Linked DNA regions of Homo sapiens: all the other regions are linked to region 2. Evidence: promoter capture Hi-C in human tissues and cell types (Jung and others, 2019). All regions are on one chromosome and are shown on one strand. Each heading gives the region's core, a stretch centred on a gene start or on the middle of the fragment in contact. The rest is flanking DNA. Distances are from core to core; before and after follow the strand shown.

Region 1 (4,059 bases), core at 904-3,403, 270 kb before region 2:
TGTATTTTTAGTAGAGACGGGGTTTCACCATGTTGGCCAGGCTGGTCTCAAACTCCTTACCTCAGGTGATCCACCCGCCTCGGGCTCCCAAGTGCTGGGATTACAGGCATGAGCCACTGCGCATGGCCCGATGTTTGAACTCTCAATGCAGCATCCTAGAGAAGGGTGTTCGGGACCTCCTGTGCCCAAGGGACCGATAAAGAAAAAAGCTCCATTTATTATTTGGGATTTGATGCACAGATGAAAAACTTAACACACAATAACGGAAGTCGGTTGTTAGTAAATCACATCCTAGTCTTTCAGCACTTCCATAAGAGACGACATCTTCAGTTGTCTAGTTCTTGTAGTTTTAGCACGGCAACATCAATGATGCCTATGTCCAGAATCAGTTAAAAAGACCATAATTTGTTTCTCTTAGTTCATCTATTTTTCACTGGCTCATGGTCCCAAGTGTATCTGAATGATTACCTTTGGGCATTCTCTGCTATTGCTTATTAGGGTGCTGTCGATTGTCCCCATGTTTTGTGGGCTGGTTGGGAAGGGGAGCTTGGGAAGGATGTGTCACTCTCAGGAGGTTGTAAGTCATTGGGACGCCTCCAGGGATGATTCCTTCCATGGCTGCAGGAAGTCCTCCTGGAGCCACGCCCACGATGCCTGGCGGATATCTGTATGTTGCACCGTTGAGCTCGGGATGAATTGCTTGCTGGTCTATTGCTGACCAAGGCGCTGATGTGACAAATAACTCCTTGTTCACACAGTTTCTTAAGCTTTCTGGGACGCGACCTGTGATGACTCGGCGGATCTCGGTGGCAGCTGCCTCCTTCATCTCCAGTGACGCCTGCATGCTGTCCTAGGCAGTGTGAGGAGTGAAGATGAGATTTGGCGCATCTTTCAACGGAGTCTGAGCAAAGCTAAAGGGCTCCGATTCGTGCAAGCCAAGGGCTGCCCCTCCTATCCTGTCCTCCTTGAGGACCTGTGCTAAGGCTTTCTCATCCACCAGGCCACCATGGGCTGCGTTCACAAGGAATGCTCCCTGTCTCATCTGCTTTATAGTAAAGTCATTGACGAGGTGGTGGTTATGTTCATTGAGATTGCAGTGCAACGAGACACAGTCACTCTGATACAGCAAACCCTGCAGGGTGTATCAGGGTCCCCTCTGCATGCCCTGGGACCTCTCTATCTTGTCCTACAAGTAGGGGTCATAAAATACGACGCTGAATCCAAAGGCCTTGGCTCAAACTGCAACCGCCTGCCTCATGCAACCGAAGCCCATGAGGCCTAGCGTCTTCCACGAATGAGGGCCACTCCCATGGCCACCTCGAGAATCTGCTCCACGCTCTGAACCCGCGCGCCTTCCCACAGTGTCTGGTACAGCCACATATTCCTCCGGCAGAGATTGAGGATGTGGCAGATAGTGGAGTTGGCTGCCTCTTCCACGGCTGTGGAGGGGATGTTGCACATAGTAATCCGGAGCTCACTGGCAGCCTTGATGTCCACGTTGTCGTAGCCACTTGCCTATCCACACGATCACTCTCAGGGCCTTGAACTTCTCCAGGTCCTCCCTTGTTTAGAATCTTCTCGTGGATCTCCTGCGTGGACTGTGCGTCACAGAAGGCCACAGTGGCCAGGTCCTTCAGGATGGGCATCTCCACGGTGCAGGTCACAGCCATCCAGCGGCGCCAGCAGCGGGAGGGGGTGCAGGGGGCTGTTCGTGATCTGAGGGTGGATAGCTTCACAAGTTCTGTCCAATCGCTGTCTCGTGATTTTGTGCTTATCCACCAGGGCCATTCTTTATGGAACTTTGCAACTCTCAGATCAAAAGGCAAAGCAGGCCTGGCATGGTGCCTCATGCCTGTAATCCCAGCACTTGGGAGGCTGAGGCAGGCAGATCACTTGAGGTCAGGAGTTTGAGACCAGCCTGGCCAACATGGGGAAACACCATCTTTACTAAAAATATAAAAATTAGCTGGGCATGGTGGCGCGCTCCTGTAATCCCAGCTACTCGGGAGGCTGAGGCAGGAGAATCACTTGAACCCGGGAGTCAGAGGTTGCTGTGAGCTGAGATCATGCCACTGCACTCCAGCCTGAGTGGCAGAGTGAGACTCTGTCTCCAAAAACCAAACCAAAACAAACAACAACAACAAAACAAAAGGCAAAGCAGTCCTCTAAAAACTTACGGAAACTCGCAGGAGTGTGTGTGCATGACGCCACTATGAACCCAATACATATCTGTCCACAAACTCTATAGTTCACAGGATGGGCTGTCCATCTTTTCTTTCTTTCTTTCTTTCTTTTTGTCGCCAGGCTGGAGTGCAGTGGCGCGATCTCAGCTCACTGCAATCTCCACCTCCCGGGTTCAAACGATTGTCCTGCCTCAGCCTCCTGAGTAGCTGGGATTACAGGTGCACACCACCACACCTGGCTATTTTTTGTATTTTAGTAGAGACGGGGTTTCACCATGTTGGACAGGATGGTCTCGATCTTCTGAACTCGTGATCCACCTGCCTTGGCCTCCCAAAGCGCTGGGATTACAGGTGTGAGCCACTAGCTGTCCATCTTTTTAAGGGAATGCAGCTTCGTCAGTTCAAAAACATTTAAGGTGATGAAACCCTCGTCCTGGGCAGTCAGCATCCACAGCGGAAAGGCTCCCGCCCCTCCCACCCCACCTGGAGGCTGTGCTGCCTCAGTTCAGTGCAGCATGGCTCCTGGTTCAGTCCTTCGCTCCTCGGGCCGCTCCCAAGCCACCTTAAAATGACACACTGAATTTGGATTATTATTATTATCTTTTTTTTTTTCAGACAGAGTCTTGCAGTTGTCGCCCAGGCTGGAGTGCAGTGGCGCAATTTCGGCTCACTGCAACCTCCGCCTCCTGGGTTCAAGCAATTGTCCTGCCTCAGCCTCCCAAGTAGCTGGGATTACAGGCACCTGCCACCACGCCCAGCTAATTTTTGTATTTTTGGTAGAGACGGGGTTTCACCATGTTGGCCAGGCTGGTCTTGAACTCCTGACCTCAGGTGATCCACCCTCCTTGGCCTCCCAAAGTGCTAAGATTACAGGTATGAGCCACCAACCCTGGTCTAAACATTTATTTTTTTAATTTCTTTTTTCTTTTTTTTTTTCTTTTTTGAGACAGAGTCTCACTCTGTTGCCCAGGCTGGAGTGCACTGGCACGATCTCAGCTTACTGCATCCTCTGCCTCCCGGGTTCCAGTAATTCTCCTGCCTCAGCCTCCAGAGTAGCTGGGACTACAGGTGCCCGCCACCATGCCCAGCTAATTTTTGTACTTTTAGTAGAGACAGGCTTTCACCATATTGGCCAGGCTGATCTCGAACTCCTGACCTTGTGATCTGCCTGCCTCGGCCTCCTAAAGTGCTGGGATTACAGGCGTGAGCCACTGTGCCCGGCTATTTTTTATTTTTTTGAGACGGACTCTCGGCTCACTGCAAACCTCTGCCTCCTGGGTTCAAGCGATTCTCCTGCCTCAGCCTCCTGACTAACTGGATTACAGGCATGTGCCACCATGCCTGGTTAATTTTTGTATTTTTAGTAGAGACGGGGTTTCACCATGTTGGTCACGCTAGTCTCGAACTCCTGACCTGGTTATCTGCCCGCCTCAGCTTCCCAAAGTGCTGGGATTACAGGCGTGAGCCACCGCGCCCGGCCCCAAACATTTATTATTAATTATTCTTCATATTACATTTCCAGGATCTACTATATATTTTTTATATTTTCATTTTATTTTTAATTAAGAAGTAATAATTGCATGTATTTATGGGGTACAATTTGATGTGTACATTGTATACATCGTGATGTGTACACAATGACACGTGTACATTGTGGAATGATTGAATCAGCTTTTCCAAGTGTGTTTCCTTCTCAGCACCTCCAAACCTCTCCTCAAGTTAACCCCAGGCCTTGAGAGAAACAAAGTGCTCTCCCTTAAACTGGGTCGCTTTGGTTCTCAGTGGAAAGTTGAGTCACAGAGGGAGGCTCTCTTTCATGTGCTTGGGTTTCACTCACTTTTATCAGCTGGACACTGCCGCAGGGGCTGATTGCTCC
Region 2 (3,970 bases), core at 1,257-3,756:
CAGGGGTGGGAGGGTAGGGGCTCAAAGTCTCAACCCTCTAATCCTGCCTTGGTCTTTCTGATGACCAGCCCCCATCCTGAAGCTTTCGGTCAATCACTAACATACAAAAAGCCAAAGGCTGGGTGCAGTGGCTCACGCCGGTAATCCCAACACTTTGGGAGGCCGAGGCAGGCAGATCACCTGAGGTCAGGAGTTCGCGACCAGACTGGCCAGTATGGTGAAACCCCGTCTCTACTAAAAAAAACAAATACAAAAATTAGCCGGGCGTGGTGGCGCGTGCCTGTAGTTCCAGCTACTCGGGAGGCTGCGGCAGAAGAACTGCTTGAACCCGGGAGGCAGAGGTTGCAGTGACTGGAGATTGCGCCACTGCACTTCAGTCTGGGCGACAGAGAGAGACTCCATCAAAAAAAAAAAAAAAAAAAAAAAAAAAAAAAAAAAGCCAGCACTTAAGAGATTCCAAGGACTTTAGGAGTTGTATGCGAGGAAATAGGGACAAAGACCAAATCTGTATTTGAGAAAATCACAGAACCGTATGAGTATTTAATTCAATACAGACATGGAAACTGGCCCAAGCATTTACTCACAGATGACTGGGCAAATCCCTGGTGTTATTGGTACAAACTATTGATCGAGCCCCCAATCTCATTCCTACCCCTAAAATATAGCAAAGTGAAAGATCTTATCACTTATTTGGACTGAGATTAACACCATCCCATAAACTGCATGGCTTTCAATCCCAGGGCTATGGCGTGTGATGCCACATAGAATATGCACTAATCTCTGCAGCAATTGAGTTGTTAGGGTAAAGGCTCTTGTTTTTGCCTTCTTTCTCTCACGGCCAAGAAAATTAAGGAACAGGGACACAAAGGATGAGGTCGGAGCGGAAGTTTAATAAGCAAAAGAAGAAAGCTCTCCCCAGCGGAGGGACCCAAAAGAGGGTTGCCAACTAGGAGGCTGAATCTGGGGGGGTTTATTAACTGGGAAGGGGAGGAACGTGGGCTGTCTTGAAGAAAGCACTACCCAGCTTGGCCCTGGGACCTTAGCCCGGGACCAATCCCAGGCTGAAGTGAAAGTTTGGCCCAGGACCAATCAGGGGCTGAAGTGAAAGTTTGGCCCGGGACCAATCAGGGGCTGAAGTGAAAGTTTGGCCCGGGACCAATCAGGAGCTGAAGTGAAAGTTTGGCCCGGGACCAATTAGGGGCTGAAGTGAAAGTTTGGCCCGGGACCAATCAGGAGCTGAAGTGAAAGTTTGGGCCGGGACCAATCAGGAGCTGAAGTGAAAGTTTGGCCCGGGACCAATCAGGGGCTGAAGTGAAAGCTTGGCCCGGGACCAATGAGGGGGTGAAGTTATGATTCAAAGAGGCCGCGCTCACAGTCTAAAGCATGTCCAAAAAAGGAAAGTGGCCGCCGGAACCTGTTAGTCCAAGCTGCACCGTTTCGTAAGCCCCCACCATTTCACAGACCCTGGTCAGAGGGAAACATTCCACCCGGGTTTGGGCTGTGCGAAACATCCTTCCCAACCGCCTGACTTCCTTATCACATCCTGCTGGGCAAAAGCCCAAGAAACATCCTTATCAACTTTCTCCCAGGCAACAAGCCATACCGCCCAGACCCCTCCTGCCCAGGCCTGTAATTACCCCAGCCTGGAAGCGGCAGTGGGCTCTGGCATTTAGTTGGTCCCCGCCATAGAGCCGCCAACTCTCTCTCTTTCTTTAACCCTCGCCTTCCCTTCAAAATCTAACAGAGCCCACCGTGTACATGCCCACAAAAGAAGCGACTATTTCGTGGAAGCCCGCTGGTCACACAAAGGACAAAGGCGTTTCTATGTTGGGCCTCGGTCCCTTATCAGTGCAGCTGAGGAATGTCTTCAGGACAACCCCCCTGTGGAGTTTTCCTTATGTATGCCTGCAGCCTGATTTTTCAGGCTGTTTCTCTGTTTAAAGGACTTTTACCAAGGTCCCACCCTAACTGCCTAAAGAGTTTTTTCTCTCAAGGGGACACACAAAGTCCCAATCGCACACATGCCTCCGCATATCCACTTACCCACTGCCTCACAGCCAATCACACTCTCCTCTCTCACATACACCAAGGGGCCACACAAGTTGCACTTGCACAGCCACAGACCTGCAACTCACGCACACAAGGTACTGCACAGACACGCAAAGTCACACACCCACCCCGGGACACGCAGTCCAACCACACAGTCACCGGTTCTTCACATCCGCACGCACAACGAGGGTCGTCCAGGACACACACACCCACTCCGGGCGCGCACAGTCACAAGCGCCCACCTGATCACCCAGAGTCAGCACCACACAGCCACAGTCACAGACCACGGAGACCCACGGCAGCCATCGCGATCACACACGCAAACTCCTCTCCTCAGCCCTCCACACACAAAAGGACCGGAGCCGGATTCCTCACCCTCAGCATTCTCTGGTTCCGCTCGGGGCCAGCCTAGCCAAGTTCCTCAGGACTCCAAGGCGCGGCGGCAGCTAAATCGGCACAGCAAACGGTCCCGCCACCTGGCTAAGAGGAAGCCAAAATCTCGCGAGACGTGGCGTCGGCCTGCGGGATCCTCTGGGAAATGTAGTCCAGAGCCCGACTGCGGGCTTCCCTATGCCTCTCATTTCCAAGCCTGGCTTGTTTCCTTTTACCGCTCCTCTCCAACGAGGATCGCAGAGCCCTCATGCCGAGCGGCTCGCTATGGGGCCGGCTCGCCCGCTAGAGTGGTCAGGCCTGATTATCCCTGGCAGCTCTGTTATCTGGGGTAAGACACAGGAAAACGTGCTTCCGGTTCTCGGCGGAAGTAGCCCCGAACGGTAGAACCGATGGGAAATGTAGTCCAGGGCAGAAAAGCGGTCAACCCAGCCACGATGCGAGCCAAAGGATTCTTGGCTCCAAGCCTGGTCCTGGCTGTTAGTTTGGAACTCATGCACCCAGATGCTAACTCGCCCTCAGAATGCAGAGGGGATGAAACACTGACCGGACAATTCAATCTGTATATGGGTGAGTCCAGGGCTCAGTCTGCATTGCGCGGAAAATGAAGGTGAAGGTGGAGGTGGGACCTGATGGTCTCGTCCCGGATAGGGTTGAAGAAGTGGGAGAAAAGGAATCAAAATCGTGGATGGGATAAGATTGTGCGCGAATGCTCTCTGGGAGCGGATCGTGGCCGACGAGGGCCCGAAGATGCTGCCTTGTGATCGCAGGTGTGAGTGGAAGCTGTGTGAGTGTCAATGTGAGTTGCCTGTTTGGGAGACCAGCATTGTATTTTTGTATCAGGTAGTAACCTTGGAGCCAGGTATTTGTAAAATTATGATAAGAGGGCATCATTCTGGAGCATCGATTTTATTTGGAGGTTGACAGGAGAGGGAAAAAAACCCCTAATATCTGATAAACAACATAAATAGATTTTTATGTTAAAGTAGTTATATTTATTACGGTCTAGAATGCAAATCCAACATGGCTTTTAAAGCAAGAAAGATTTTTTTTATACAAAGTCAAAGGTATTATTTTTATACACTTACTACAAAACATACAAATAGTATACCAAGCCTAAGAATATAAAGAGTCTAGCTTTAATTAATTGAATGTAAATTTAAAAACAAGCATCTAATAAGTAGTCCTTTTCACACATCGAAAAGCCAATTTCGGAATTTTTTTAAAAACTCAAATTACAAAGTAACAAATATCTGGTGTCTTAGTAACTTGAAGATCAGTACTAATGATTAAGCCAGCTTATATGCTAATATGATACATGAAAAAGCCTGTATTTCACAAATAGCAAACCACTAAAACTTTAATTTTCCACAGAAGCCATTGTTTCACACCAATAATTATGTTAAAGATCAAGACAGGCTAAAAGTTTTTAATGAGCACTGAATCCATTAAAACTTGGCAAATTTTTCCACGAAGGTAGAATTTTAATTTCTGTTTAAACCATGGGTAGATGGTACACCCTTGTGAGGGT
Region 3 (4,379 bases), core at 651-3,150, 350 kb before region 2:
GAAACTCCGTCTCAAAAAAAAAAAAAAAAAAAAGAATTCCTGTTCTAGGCTGGGGGCGGTGGCTCATGCCTGTCATTCCAGCACTTTGGGAGGCCGAGGCAGGCAGATCACTTGAGGCCAGGAGTTTGAGACCAGCCTGGCCAACATGGTAAAACCCGGTCTGTACTAAAAATACAAAAATTAGCTGGGTGTGGTGGTGCAGGCCTGTAATCCCAGCTACTTGGGAGGCTGAGGTATAAGAATCGCTTGAACCACGGAAAGGGAGGTTGCAGTGAGCTGAGATTGTGCCACTGCACTCCAACCTGGGTGACAGAGCAAGACCCTGTCTCAAAAAAAAAAAAAAAAAAAAAAAAAAAGAATTCCTGTTTTAGACTATTTAAGCATCTGATCTGGCTCATTTATTTTTTACTAGGAAATACTCACCACAATTGGCTTAGTATTTTCATTTTCCCCCCATCTATAGAAGGCTGATGTAGAATTGCTCCAAATCACTACTTAAGAATACATAACTAAGGTTTATTAAGTACTAACGAGGTCTCAGGAACTGTTCTAAGAACTTTACACATAGTAATTAAAAGAAGGCCCACAGAAGTAATGAAAAACATCTACCAAATGGGTATGTGCATACAGGCTCTCGGGAGGGGACCTAGGTATCAGCTCAATGGACAGGACATTTATGGAGAATGAAACAAATATTCTCATGTCCTAAGAAATAAGAATGCATTTCACAGAAGAAAGCAGAAACACCCACTCGCCTCGACCTTGACTTAAACAGGCAACAGCAATTCATTCCTCCTCCCGCTCGGACCCCTTTTCTTAAAGAATTGGGCAGGACTGGCTAATAAGGGAACCAGGCTTTTCTTGCAGCCCAGCCTCGCATAGGGCACAATGCCCCCACCGCCCACCCACACATAACCAGAGTAACATAAGAGAGATGGTGTTGTTAACTCTTCCCAGTATCAAAGAAAGGCCAGGGTCATGGATGCCCGGGGCTAGAACTGGAGTTCACAATAGCTTCCTGGAAGCAATGCTGTGGTTCTGAAACCTGCAGCTGGACTCTTCAGAGTTGTGAGTGCACGTGCGTGGGTCCGGGTCCGCGAGGAGGTGGTGTGGGAGTCCCTTCCAGGAGCAAGCCTGGGCGGGAGCGGGGGCTCGTTCAGTTCTAATATTCCTATCCCAAGGTCGGGTCTGAGCCTTGTTTCGCTGTTGCCCAGGCTGGAGAGTAGTGGTGCTATCATAGCTCGCTGCAGCCTCAATCTCCTCCTAGGCTCAAGCCATCCTCCCGCCTCAGCCTCTCGAGTGGCTGGGACCACAGGAGCACGCCATCACACCCGGCTCATTTTTTAAATTTCTGGTACAGATGGGAGTTTCGCTTTGCTGCCCAGGCTGGTCTCGAACTCCTGGCTTCCAGCGATCCTCCCGCCTCGCTCTCCCAGAGCTCTGGGATTACAGATGTGAGCCACCTGGTCCGGCCTAGTCTGCGCGTTTCTGCTGGGAGTCTTTGGCGTGCAGAAACTGACCGAGGGCCATTTCTCTGCAGCTGGGCCCGGTGTGGGCAGAGGATGCTGGGGTCAGTCACGCACTCCACGGCCACAACAACCTTCGCTCATACAATAGTCTCTGCACCCAAGTCAGCCGCACAGACTCCGTCACGTCCCAGCCCCGGCCCCGTCACGCCCACGACACACACACCCGGGCCTGAGGCGCGGGCTCCCGCCCCTCTGCGATACTGCAGTGGCCCCGCTTACCTCTCTTTACCCCCTGGGCCGCAGCGCTTTTCCTACAGATTACCAGGACCGACGCTCCGGGCCAGGACTGCTCACTCGGGGCGCGAACCCGAGGCACAGCGATGCCCGAACGGAGGAAGCCGCTGCCGGGTCACGCCACAATCCCCGGGGCCTAACGGGCTGCGCGCGGAGGCTGCTGGGAGGGCCGGGCGCGCTCACGGAGTGCGCAGGCGCGGCCAGTCTCAAGGGTCCGCTCGCTGGTGCAGCCCCTGCTCTGCGTGAACCCGGAGCCGGAGCTAGGTCCGTCCCAGCGAGGCTGCGCTTCGAGTCCCTTAGCGCCTGGGGACGGCGCGGCAGGGCCTGGAGGGGAGCGGGGACAGATGGCTGGCGCGTTAAAGAGGGGCGCCCGCGACCGCCTCTCTATAGTGCCAACTAGGGAGCCCTGTGAGCGAGGACGGCGCTGCGAGTCTGTCCCTGGCGCGCTCCTGGGTGGGATTCTTTCACTGGGTGTGGCTGTTGGGATTTGAGACCGTGTGACTCCGGAGATTCGGGGAAGCCAGTTCCTATATTTTCCATTTCTGTATTTTTAAATGGTAAAAACAATGAAAAGGAGAACAATATTTTGTGAAATATGAAAATCATACATGTCAAATTTCAGTGTCCATAAATAAAAGTTTTATTGGAACATAGCCGTGTTTGATTGTGTACTGTCTATTGCTATATTTGAGCTACAAGGACAGACTCGAGTAGTTACACAGACCAGATGGCCCACGCAGCCTAAAATACAGTCAGTTCTCACTATTCACAGTAGTTATGGTCTATAAACTTGCTACAAACACGGAATTAGTGAATACCATTCCACTGCTTCTAGGGGAAATACAGGGTTAGTTTCCTGTAAGCATCTGGTCACATTTTAGTCAACCGATGAATGCATAAGCTTATTTTATTGTGTTTATTTTCTTTTTTTCTTTTTTTTTTTTTTTTTTGAGATAGGGTCTTGCTCTGTCACCCAGGCTGGAGTGCAGTGGTGGGATCTTGGCTCACTGCAACCTCCTCCGCCTCCCGGGTTCCAGCAATTCTCCTGCCTCAGCCCCCAGAGTAGCTGGGAATACAGATGCATGTCACCATGCCCAGCTGATTTTTGTATTTTGTAGAAACGGAGTTTCACCATGTTGACCAGGCTGGTCTCAAACTCCTGACCTCAGGTGATCCACCCGCCTTGGCCTCCCAAAAGTGCTGGGATTATAGGCATGAGCCACCGCGCCTGGCCTTATTGTGTTTCTATTTAAACACTTTAATATATATTATTGATTCATTAACATTGAACTCATGGCCAACAGCTCCATAACTCATGCCTGAATGAAGCTTATCTAACACATGTATTTTTTCTGTAAGACACATGACCGCTTTCTCATTCATAGGAACATCAACAGCACTTTAGTACTACTACATTTGGGGTCCCTTTGAAACAGCAAAATCACCAGCAAAAAACAAAAATATGAGAAGCCAAGGTACTAAATGGACTGCAAAAAGGGTACCTGTTTACAGTATGAGAGCTGAAATAAGAAGATAGAGGGTCACTTTGTTTGACTTTGGCTGAGAACATGCCTGTTAAGGGACTCAAAAAGGTTCACCGCTCTTCGGATGTCCACAAATGACCACAAAGGTGCTGCAAATATTGACTCTGGGTTTATAAAAAAGTTTTAGCAAGTAGATGAATTCACAAATTCAGAATCTGTGAATGAAGATTGACTGTATTTACTATCAGGCCCTTTAAAGAAAAAGTTTGCCAATCCCTGTTTTTATATGTCCCTCTTAGTTATACAGCTAGTGTTTAAAAACTACTTGAAATAATTATTTTCCCTGTGCCACCAATTATGTCTATAATTGATTGTACCCCATTAAATAAGCACAAAGAAAAAAGAAAGCTTTCTTTATAGAAGAAGGCCAGCTAATAACTATCAAGGGTTTGATTTTACGTGGCTTAGACACGCTGCTTCAAATGCATTTAAGATGTTTGGTTTTAACAAGGATTTTGCAACAGTATAGTGTTTTCCTTAAGTTCAATGTCATTTCTATGTCATGGCAGCTGTCACCTGCAGTTAGGTAAGACAGTGACATCATTAACATGGATGCATTTTCATGGCATGAAGGCTAGCCATTGATGGGGTAATATAACACAATTTATCAGTAAACGCTGAGTTTTCTTTGAAGTCAGTCTCTGATTTCTTACAGTGCTTGATGTCTGCCTTGCCTGCTAGTGACCAATTCCCCTGCGTCTTTACAGAGCCTTGTTACTCACTCAGTGTAAAGACAGTGGGGGAAACAAGGTTTCCCAAAGTATCCTTATGTGCAAAAGTGTTTCTTACTACTTTGGAAATACTAAGCTGAGTTTAATGTTTATTCTTTTTCTACCAACAGACACAAAAAGGACAAGCACATGCCTTAGAATATTCAATACAATTTTCTACAGCGATATGGTTAAATACTCTTCTGTCTTCACTACTTTTTTGTTTTTACTTTACTTGGAAATTTTAATTCTCTAGGAATAACGGGGCAGGAGTCTAAAATAATACTTTGTGGGAGTGAAGTATATATTTTTTTCCAAGTAAAAAAAAAAAATCAGGCCAGGCGTGATGGCTTAGGCCAGGC

What was found. The method cuts DNA at HindIII sites, captures the fragments that hold promoters and counts their contacts. A contact is called where the count stands out against the background at its distance.
Region 1: a contact is called between a fragment that was not itself captured here and the fragment with the promoter of ZNF850 in region 2, in 2 of the 25 tissues and cell types used here (heart right ventricle and mesenchymal stem cells).
Region 3: a contact is called between the fragment with the promoter of ZFP82 here and the fragment with the promoter of ZNF850 in region 2, in 1 of the 25 tissues and cell types used here (mesenchymal stem cells).

Annotation. Positions count from the first base shown.
Region 1 is chr19:36,496,429-36,500,487 of GRCh38, forward strand. It overlaps the pseudogene CTBP2P7. Among named protein-coding and RNA genes, the nearest start is that of ZNF566-AS1, 8.8 kb to the left of the region's middle. The HindIII fragment of the contact is 8,707 bases long and covers 1-4,059 here.
Region 2 is chr19:36,770,301-36,774,270 of GRCh38, forward strand. It overlaps ZNF850 (zinc finger protein 850), which reads right to left and starts at 2,507. Exons shown (of 5, transcript NM_001193552.2): 1 at 2,425-2,507. LOC728485 (a long non-coding RNA gene) reads left to right here and starts at 2,853. Exons shown (of 2, transcript NR_164117.1): 1 at 2,853-3,209. RefSeq lists a silencer at 2,047-2,341 and enhancers at 2,328-2,467, 2,608-2,767. The HindIII fragment of the contact is 7,262 bases long and covers 701-3,970 here.
Region 3 is chr19:36,416,744-36,421,122 of GRCh38, forward strand. It overlaps ZFP82 (ZFP82 zinc finger protein), which reads right to left and starts at 1,901. Exons shown (of 5, transcript NM_133466.4): 1 at 1,749-1,901. RefSeq lists an enhancer at 1,270-1,429. The HindIII fragment of the contact is 5,247 bases long and covers 1-2,878 here.